2 separate regions of the Homo sapiens genome follow, and region 2 is linked to region 1. The links are contacts of gene promoters, found by promoter capture Hi-C in human tissues and cell types (Jung and others, 2019). All regions are on one chromosome and are shown on one strand. Each heading gives the region's core, a stretch centred on a gene start or on the middle of the fragment in contact. The rest is flanking DNA. Distances are from core to core; before and after follow the strand shown. Region 1 holds the start of ART5 (ADP-ribosyltransferase 5). Region 2 overlaps NUP98 (nucleoporin 98 and 96 precursor).

Region 1 (4,920 bases), core at 2,303-4,802:
TCAGCCCAGCAAGGCCACAGCGGGGCAGAAGGTCTAGTCTCATGGAATAAACCAATCATAAAATTCCATGTCTCCACACTGCAATACCATTTAATCACGTAGCTACCTCAATAAAACTCCATGTCTCCACATTGCAACACCGTTCAATCAAGTGGCTGCCTCAGTACTTTCCTTGCTTGTCCCAGGAAGTCCCCATCACATAGCAGAGTTCCCTCAGCCCTGCTGTGGCCTCCCCAGGCCAACATCCTGGTTGGGGAGAAGGCTGCTAGGGCTGGGTCCGGAACCATGTTCTTGCTTCTCAAGGCTGCTGGAGGTGCCTCTTCGTCATATGAAGGTCACCCGTTCCCAGGGCTCCTAAGTGGCAGATGTTGGACTTTCAGGGCCCAACCCCTGAGAGCTGGAACTCTCCAGGGGCCAAGAGCAGAGTCTTCCAGGGGGGCAGAGAGGAGGCCCCCTCAGATTGTGACCCTAGCTGCACCCCTGCTGAAGGGAAAAGAGGAGGAAGGGGTCAGCAGGGTGAGGGGGAGTCAAAGCAGCTGAAGGAGGATGGAAGGGCAACTCACCTGGCGCAGACACACAGCCCCGCCTCTTCTCCCCTGCAACAGACAGCAGGGTGAGGCCTCCGCGTGGACAGACTCGCACCCAAACTGCCTGGCCCACCAGGCCCTGGCAGGGCCATTTCCCTTCTCAATCTATCTTTCCCTTCACCTAAAGGGAAACTTCTGATTTCCCTTCCTCCTCCGTCCTCCAGGAACTCTTTCCAGATTGCCTTTCCATCCCTCTTCCCACCCAAGACCCAGTCACTCTTCCATCTCTCCCTGCCTTAGCACTTGGGAATGGCACATACGTGCCCTGTCAGCCCCATCGAGCCCAGGGCCCCCCTGAGACCTGAAGCAGTCCCCTTGGCTCTTTCTGCTGCTTGCTAATCTCCTTAACCAGGTTCTTTTGGTCTATTAGACCATGTAGCAGATGGACCCTTTTGAGGACATATAGAATCATCTAAGAATGTTCACGAATCTAGAAAACACTTATAGGACCCCAAAAAACCTGAGTCACAGAGGACAGCAACTCCAGCTGACTTCCAGCCCTCATTTCCCCTTTAACCAAGTGGGTCTCCCGAAGGCCCCGGGGATTATTGTGTAAGGACATCCTGGCTTATTTCACCCACACTGCCAGTCCTGCTTCCCCCATGCACAGCTTACCACCCAGATAGGCGCAGTTAAAATGGCTACAGGTCTGATTATAGCTCCAGAGAGTCACCAAGCTCTGGGCTCCATCCTGAGAGAATCTGGTAACCAAAAAGACTTCATGGGGGGGAATCAGCACCTCGCGCTCCTTGGGAAAGACAGAGAAGGCCTGTATAGGGGCCCCAAAGCAAGTTGTTAGAGAGAAGAGGGTGGCATTACCAAATCTGTGGGCCACTGCCTTATCCAGGGAGCTGGAGGCAAACTGGCCCAAGCGGACAGAGTCTCCCAGCCTCTTGGGTTCAAAGCGAAGGCTGCCCACACCTCGGAACACCACCTCCCCAGGTCCCCTGCTGCAGCCCCCACTGCCTCGCAGCAGCTGCAGGGCCCGGATCAGGTAGAAATGCAGGGCCTTGAAGGGAAAGTGCCTCATGTAGAGCTCCCGGGAGCCTCCGCCCGTCCGCACGGCCTGATTCAACTCCCAGTACAAGGTGTTCGATGAGTTGGTGTAGACCATAATGGCTATTCCATTCTGGGCTTTGAAGCCAGGGGGCAAGGTAAGCCCTCGACGCTTGTCCTCCCAGGTCTCCTGGGCTGCCTCCCAGGATTCCCGCAGCAGGGCATGGTGGGCCATTTCCTCCTTTAGCAGGGGGGCTGCCTTCTCCTCCATCTCCTCTGCACAACCCACATAGGTATCGTCAAAGGTGTCTGGAGCCAGGCCCAGGGGCAGGATGGGAACAGCCTGGGCCTGTGGAGCAAAAGAGGTGCCACACCGAAAAGAGCATAAGTTCAGAGCACTGGACATGGGTCCTGGGGGCAAACCCATCCAGAAACACAGAATCTCATTTCTATCCCTAAATATCAGGTATATGCAATTTGGCAAGGGCCCAATAAGAGGCTTAAATAACACAGGCACTGGAGTCAGTCAGACATGGACTGAAATCTTTTTTTTTTTTTTTTTTTTTTGATGGAGTCTTGCTCTGTTGCCCAGGCTGGAGTGCAGTGGTGAGATCTCGGCTCACTGCAAGCGCCACCTCCCAGGTTGGAGTGATTCTCCCACCTCAGCCTCCCAACTAACTGGGATTACCTGTGCATGCCACCATGCCTGGCTAATTTGTTTTTGTGTTTGTTTCTTTGAGACGAAGTCTCGCTCTGTTGCCCAGGCCGGAGTACAATGGCACGATCTTGGCTCACTGCAACCTCTGCCTCCCGGGTTCAAGCAATTCTCCTCTCTCAGCCTCCCAAGTAGCTAGGATTACAGGTGCGCAATACCACGCCCAGCTAATTTTTTGTATTTTTAGTAGAGACAGGGTTTCACCATGTTGGTCAGGCTGGTCTCGAACTCCTGACCTCAAGTGATCCACCAGCCTCAGCCTCCCAAAGTGCTGGGATTACAGGAGTGAGCCACCGCGCGCAGGCTGAAATCTTGACTTTACCACCTATTAGCTGTGAGGCCTTGGGCAAGTGTCATAACTTTTCTGGACTTGAGGATACTTCCAACCTCACAGTTATTATGAAGACAGCATAAAGAGCATTACTTCTGTACAACCTAAAAGGGGTCATCCTGTCATTAGAAAGGTTCTTGCAGTCGGTGGGAGGTGGGACTAGATGACTATCAAGCACTTTTCCGGCTGTAAGATCTGGCAGGCAGGTGATGTGCAAATATTACACACAGCCAGTGTCCAGCTGCCTAACCCCCAGCCCCATTCTCCTCGGGCTCTCTTTCCCTCTCATCCAGCAGGAAGCCCTTGCAGGTAGGTGCTCAGCCACCACACCAAATCACTGTGAGCTCTGAGACGCCTGAGTCCTCCCCTGCTCTGTACCCACATTTGGGGTAGGGGTGGTGGGGAGGCCAAGCCTTGGTTGGGACGGGCTGCCAGGACTGCAGCACACAGGTAACCCAAGGAGGCTTTGCCGGGCTGTGCCTGCGCTGGGAGATGAGAGGTGGGGAGGAGAACGTTGGAGGCATCCAGAGAGGGATGGAGATGGGGGTTCTAGGAGACAGAATGGGAACTTGGGGCTCCCTGCAGAGATGGAGGTTCCTGAGAGGAAGAGAGTTAAGAGTGGAATCCTAGGGAAGAGTCCCTGGGAGAGGGATGTGAGGAGTCAGCCCCGGGTCCACTTCCTCAGGGTCTGTCCCTTAATGTCCCCCTTGGGGCTAGGAGATGGTTCCTGGAGTTACCTGCCAGGTGTGGAGGCCGAGGCTGCCGAGGGCGATCATCAAAGCCGCCAGCGCCATCCCTGGAGGAGACGTGAGGGCCAGGGGTCCGGGTGAGGGCGGGACCAGAGGTGCTGGAGTCCTGGTTTCGAGGGGCTGGAGGCAGATCTGGACCCTGTCTCCAGGCGCACGGGATCCCGGGTCCAGGATTAGGGCCCCGGCGGGGCGTGGGCGGGGCCTGGGAGTTTATTGCCCGCCCCCCGCCCCAAGTCTCCGCCCCCGACTCCCCACACCCCTTCCTCAGAGCCTCCAGTCTGGGGACCTTTCCGAGACTGTAAAGGCGGGGCCGCAGTTTGGCTCCGCCTGAGAGGGGAGGGCCGGGGGCGGAGGACCCACTTGAAGGCTGCGGAAGCCGCCAGCGGGAGGGAGCGCCGAGGGCTCTGGCGGGCGCTGCGCTGTCCCCGGAGGAGTCCGGAGTCCGGCTGAAAGCAAAGGTTCTCGAGGCTAACTGTAGCCCCCGCGCTGGTAACCCGACACCCCTTTCCCAGCGCCGCACGCGGGGCCGGGAGCGGGCGCGCCAGGGCAGGGACTGAGGAGCAATTCCCTTTCTCAAGGCCTGCGGGGTCTTTCTGCGGGACCCTCTTTGGCTGTGAGTGATGGGGAGGAAACTTGTGAGACTCGGCCTCTCCCTCAGGCGGGCCCTGACCCGGTCGGCCCCTGGTCCCCGGCCCACCAGGCCAGGGGCCCCGCGGGGGTCCCGCCGGCCGAGAGGTCGCCCCCGGAGCACTGCGATTTGCATACAGTTTGCATTTGGCCCACACCCTGGGCCACGTGCTCCAGCATCTGAGCAGCGCCCACTCCCTGCCTGCTCTGGGCCCTCTCCCCATTCGCCTTCAGTGGGGTTGGGCCAGAGACAGAGCCCTTGGTCGCAGATCCACAGGGTCCGGTCTCGCCCCTCCCCCAGACCGCTCTCGTGGCCGCTCAGACTCAGGTGACCCATGTTTGTAAACACTGGCCTTTCCCCCACCTCCTCTGGGCTTATCTATAAATAACCTGGCTCTGAGTTTTGGATGCCCCGTCAGAGGTCATGGGAGAAGGGGCCAGCGGAGGAATTGGTAACTCAGGGAAGAGCTTCCTAGCAGCCAGAGCCAGGAGGAGGTGGGGTTGTCACCCCTCCTTCCCCCAGCGGCCGGAGGGTCGCCGAAAGCTAGGATTTGAGAAATGCTGCCTGCTGGGGCTGAGGTGGGCACGAAAGATTAGAGCTACCCAAAGGAATCCATCCTGGTCTGGCTCATTAATTTTCCCCATCCCTGTCCCCCCATCCCCTCAGAGTGTCAGCCAAATAAAAAGTTTCCTCCACCTAGAATCCTGCTATCTCCCAGAATCCTTTCTGTAGACCAAACGGGAAGACATACGGTGGGTCCAGGCTTGGAGGAGGGTGGGGAGGGAGGTGCTTCTGAGTGCTTGTTAGAAAAACAGCTCCAGGGCAGGGCGCAGTGGCTCCCGCCTGTAATCCCAGCACTTTGGGAGGCTGAAGTGGGAGGATCACGAGGTCAGGAGTTCGGGACCAGCCTGGCC
Region 2 (5,046 bases), core at 843-3,342, 44 kb after region 1:
TTAAAAATAAAATAAAGTATTTTCATGTTCAAAAAGTTGGGGCTTGGCTCGGCGCAGTGGCTCACGCCTGTAATCCCAGCACTTTGGCAGGCCGAGGCGGACAGATCACGAGGTCAAGTCATTTACTTTCAGATCAAAACTATTCTCATTATGGACTCTTTTCTGAATTCCTAAGCTTTTCAATGACTTCCACTGTCATCACAACTGCCTCCTTTTTTATATTCTTTTTCAGGAAACAAGATCTGCTTCTCCATAGTCAACTCCGAAACATTAGCCATCCTATCAAGCCAGTCTTTTACCATGTGAAATCCTTTATGACTGTGTTTAAATAAACTTAAAAAAATAGCCTGGGGTCATTTCATTCCCTGTTAAAGGGGAAGAAGAAAGAGAAACTGCTTAAAGAAAGAGAAATTGCTTAAGTCTTAATAAGACTATGCTAGATGCTTTATACTTTTACTCTTTTTAATTTCACAATCACCTTTAAATAGAAACTAATGTTATGCTTTCACAGGCCAAAAAAAAAAAAAAAAAAAAAAAAAAAAAAAAGGCTTAGGCTTAGAGAGTTAAGAGAGTATCTTTATCCAAAGTCAAAAGTAAGCTTTACCCTAGGTCAAAGTGAGTACGTGGTAGATCTAGAATTTAGACCCTATTTCCTTCCATACCATGCAACACAACAGTGCAGCATAATGATAAGAGCACAGACTCTGGACGAAAGTTGGAAACCTCACTCTGCCATTTACTAGCTGTGTGACCTTGGACAAAAGTTAAGCTCTGTGTCTTGGGTTACTGACCTGTAAAACAGAGATAATAACAGTGTCTATCTCACAGGTCATAATGAACATAAAACAGTTAATATATATGGTATACAATATAAACATGTGTAAAAGCACTTCAAGTACTACATAAATGTTCATTTTGTGTAATTACTGAAATACCATACTGCTATCATTAACAAAAATCTCCGGCCTTATCTTGTTCAAACCGCAGTGAAAAGGCATTTCTCCAGTTCTCTTTAAGGACAGAGAATCAAGACACATATACCTAAGCACAAGGCTGTGTTAATAAATACAATACTATCAAGCTTAAGGAATGGGTCGGTGACAAGGGATGACCAGAGAAAAAGCAAGCCAGTGGACACAGAAAAAGCAGGGACCTTTTTGCTAACCCATTACTTCCCTGCCGTGGAGTCACTGAGGCAGCTCAGACAGCACTATTTCTGTGTAATTCCTAAACATGCCACATTCACCTGAATCTGGGATTCAGAAAAGAGCCCACTATGAGGAGAATAGTTCTGATCTGAAATTAAATGACTAGTTTTTTGGCCCAGGCATAATGCTATTGTCCCATCTGGGCATATTCTCTCATTTCCACTTCATTATTTCCTATTCCAATTTTACAGGTTCTTCGACTCTTACCTCTATGAAGAATTTCTCTGATCAATGCAGTTCACAGAGATCTTTTTTTCTCAGACTGCTGAGAGACTTTGTGATAAATATTATAATTTGGCACTTAATCAAAGGAAGTCTCAGTTTTAACTGGTTTACATGAATACAGAAACAGTCTAGGCTAAGGGTTTAACTATCTTGAGGTTTATCACAACGCTGGATCTAACACACATTCTACACAATTACTTGCTAAACTGAACCCTGAAAGACTGATTCCTTTGGAATTGCCCTGTAGTGCTAGATGTACCCAGTGGGTTCAACGGCTTCTCACTCACCCTGAGTTGTCAATGTGCAGGAGGACAAAGATGGCCCACTCCCAGAGCCCCTCACTTTCAAGCTGGCCAGCGTAACTGGCCTGTAGCACACCTTCACACTGCGCTGAGAGATGGGTGTAGTTAAGAGCCCTCAGCACTTCCCACAAGTGCCAGCTTAGGCGGTAGTCCAAAGGATCTGCTGTTATGCTTCGAGGCTCCAGCAGCTGGTTGAGATCATAATGTCTGCAAAGAACGTGTTGAGAGTCAACATACACAGCCAGGAGACGGCCTGGACTGATATGTCAACTGTTCTGCTTATGTCTAAGACAATAAAAGAACCTGAGAGTGAAAGCATTATAGGCCTTCTCTCCCTCTGAGCCTATGTTTTATCAATCTATCTCTGGGTTCAGCCAGACTTTAGATCCTACAAAGAAACAAGGCACCTTCTCTTCTAAGGTTGTGTGATCTAACAGGTTTGCTGGTAATGGTTTGGCGTATGTATTTTACCATCCTGATACAGGGAGTCTTCACAGTTCTCACCCTTCCATTCCTTCATTATAATGTCATTACTTTTTTCTTTTTTTTGAGACAGAGTCTCGCTCTGTTGCCCATTTCTGGTATTTTGAAGTATCCTTTTCTTTCTTTCTCTGACATATTTAAAACTGCACGTATCTAGAGTACACAATTTTAATGAGCTTTAACATATGTAGACACCTGTAAAACCACCATCACGATCAAGAAAATAAATAGAGCAAGGCGCGGTGGCTCACGCCTGTAATCCCAACACATTGGAAGGCTGAGGTGGGCGGATCACTTGAGGTCAGGAGAGTTTGAGACCAGCCTGGCCAAGATGGTGAAACTCTTGCCTCTACTAAAAATACAAAAATTAGCCAGGTGTGGTAGTGCATGCCTGTATTCCCGGCTACTCAGGAGGCTGTGGCACAAGAACTGCTGGAACCCAGGAGGCGGAGGTTGTGGTGAGGTGAGATCATACCACTGCACTCTGACAGGGTGAGACTCCAACTCAAAATAATAATAATAATGATGACTCAATTGTAACCTCAACCTCCTGGGCTCATGCGATCCTCTCACTTCAGCCTCCTAAGTAGCTGGGACTACAGATGCATGCCACCATGCCCACCCAATTTAAGAAATTTATTTTTGTAGAGATGGGGTCTCATTATATTGCCCAGGTTGGTCTTGAGCTCCTGGGTTCAAGTGATCGTCCCACTTCAGCGTCACAAACTGCTGGGATTATAGGCATGACGCACCATACCTGGCCTGTTTTCTTATTACTGAATTTTCAGAGTTCTTGATGTATTCCTGGATACAAGTTCTCTATCAGATCTACGAATTGCAAGTATTTTCTCCCAATCTATGGTTTACCTTTTCATTCTCTTAACAGTCTTTCTATGAGCAGTAGTTTTGAAATTTTGTTGAAGTCCAATTTACCAATTTTTTTCTCTTATGAATTGTGTTATTTAGTGTCCACCTAAGAAATCTTCTGCCTAACCTACAGTTGCAAAAATTTTCTGCTTTGTTTTCTTCTAGAAGGTTTATAGTTAAGTTGAAATTTAGGTTTGTAATCCATTATGAGCTGGATAAACAATAGACACAACTAATGAGGCCAGAAGGTGGTTCTTTGAAAAGGTCAATATGATTGCTAAACTCTAGGTACACCAACCAAGAAAAAAAGAGGACGCAATTATTGAACACAAATGACCAGTATCAAAAAGAAAGAGACGTTGTTAAAGATCCTACAGATATTTAAAATGGTTAATAAGGAAATGTTATTAATAACTTGATGCTAATAAATTTTGTGACTTTAGGCCGGGTGCGGTGGCTCACGCCTGTAATCCCAGCACTTTGGGAAGCCAAGGCGGGTGGATCACGAGGTCAGGAGATCGAGACTATCTTGGCTAACAAAACAAGGCTGGGTGCAGTGACTCATGCCTGTAATAGACATTTTAGCAAAGATGTACAGATGGTAAATAAGCACATGACAAAGTGCTCAACATCATTAGACATTAGGGAAATGCAAATGAAACAATGAGAATTTCCAGTATGGGAAGATGAAAAAGTTCTGGAGAGGGTGGTGATGATTGTATAGCAATGTGAATGGACTTAATGCCACTGAACAGTATGCTTAAAATGGTTAAAACAGTAAATTTGGCCGGGCACGGTGGCTCACGCCTGTAATCCCAGCACTCTGGGAGGCTGAGGTGAGCGGATCACGAGGTCAGGAGATCCAGACCATCCTGGCTAACATGGTGAAACCATGGTGAAACCCCGTCTCTACTAAAAATTAGCCGGGCGTGGTGGTGGGTGCCTGTAGTCCCAGCTACTCGGGAAGCTGAGGCAGGAGAATGGTGTGAACCCAGGAGGCAGAGCTTGCAGTGAGCCTAGTTCGCGCCACTGCACTCCAGCCTGGGCGACAGAGCGAGACTCCATCTCAAAAAATAATAATAATAATAAAATAAATAAATAAAAACCAGTAAATTTTAGTTACATTTTACTACAATAAAAAGCTACATTCTATATAATTAATATAGTTAAATACTGGCCAGGCACAGTGGCTCACACCTATAATCCCAGCACTTTGGGAGGCCGAGGCAGGAGGATTACTTGAGGTCAGGAGTTCGAGACCAGCCTGGCCAACGTGGCAAAACCCCATTTCTACTAAAAATACAAAAATTAGCTGGGCTTTGTGGCGCATGCCTGTAACCCCAGCTACTCAGGAGGCTGAGGCAGGAGAATCGCTTGAACCTGGAAGGCAGAGGTTGCAGTGAGGCAAGATCACGCCACTGCACTCTAGACTGGGCGACAGAGAGAGACTGTCTCGAAAATATATATATGTATTTAAATATACATATATATATATATATATATATTTATAAGAAATCACCTTGAAGATTTGAAATGAGATGAGCTATTTGTGTGACTAGAGAAAAAAAAAACAAAAACTGTAAGTATTTCTAAGGTAATGTAAGAAGACTTCTCTGCTGCGTGCAGTGGCTGACACCTGTAATCCCAGTACTTTAGGAGGCCAGCGCAAGTGGATCACTTGAGCTCAGGAGCTTGAGAACAGCCTGGGCAATGTGGCAAAATCTTGTCTACAAAAAATACAAGAATTAGCTGAGTATGGTGGTGCACTCCTGCAGCGCTCAGCTACTCAGGAGGCTGAGGTGAAAGGATCGCCTGAACCCGGGTGGTTGAGACTGCAATGAGCCATGATCATTCCACTGCACACCAGCCCGGGTGACAGAGCAAAACCCTGTCTAAAAACAAAACAAGGCTAGGTGCAGTGGCTCGCGCCTGTAATCCCAGCACTTTGGGAGGCTGAGGTG

What was found. The method cuts DNA at HindIII sites, captures the fragments that hold promoters and counts their contacts. A contact is called where the count stands out against the background at its distance.
Region 2: a fragment that was not itself captured here is called in contact with the fragment with the promoter of ART5 in region 1 in 1 of the 25 tissues and cell types used here (mesendoderm cells).

The regions. Positions count from the first base shown.
Region 1 is chr11:3,638,440-3,643,359 of GRCh38, forward strand. It overlaps ART5 (ADP-ribosyltransferase 5), which reads right to left and starts at 3,553. Exons shown (of 4, transcript NM_053017.5): 1 at 3,367-3,553; 2 at 1,203-1,932; 3 at 564-596; 4 at 73-354. The coding sequence starts at 3,423. The coding sequence ends at 299. RefSeq lists an enhancer at 3,260-3,973 and a silencer at 4,113-4,162. The HindIII fragment of the contact is 5,679 bases long and covers 2,201-4,920 here.
Region 2 is chr11:3,684,253-3,689,298 of GRCh38, forward strand. NUP98 (nucleoporin 98 and 96 precursor) reads right to left here. Exons shown (of 33, transcript NM_016320.5): 29 at 1,721-1,942. Among named protein-coding and RNA genes, the nearest start is that of CHRNA10, 15 kb to the left of the region's middle. The HindIII fragment of the contact is 6,430 bases long and covers 1-5,046 here.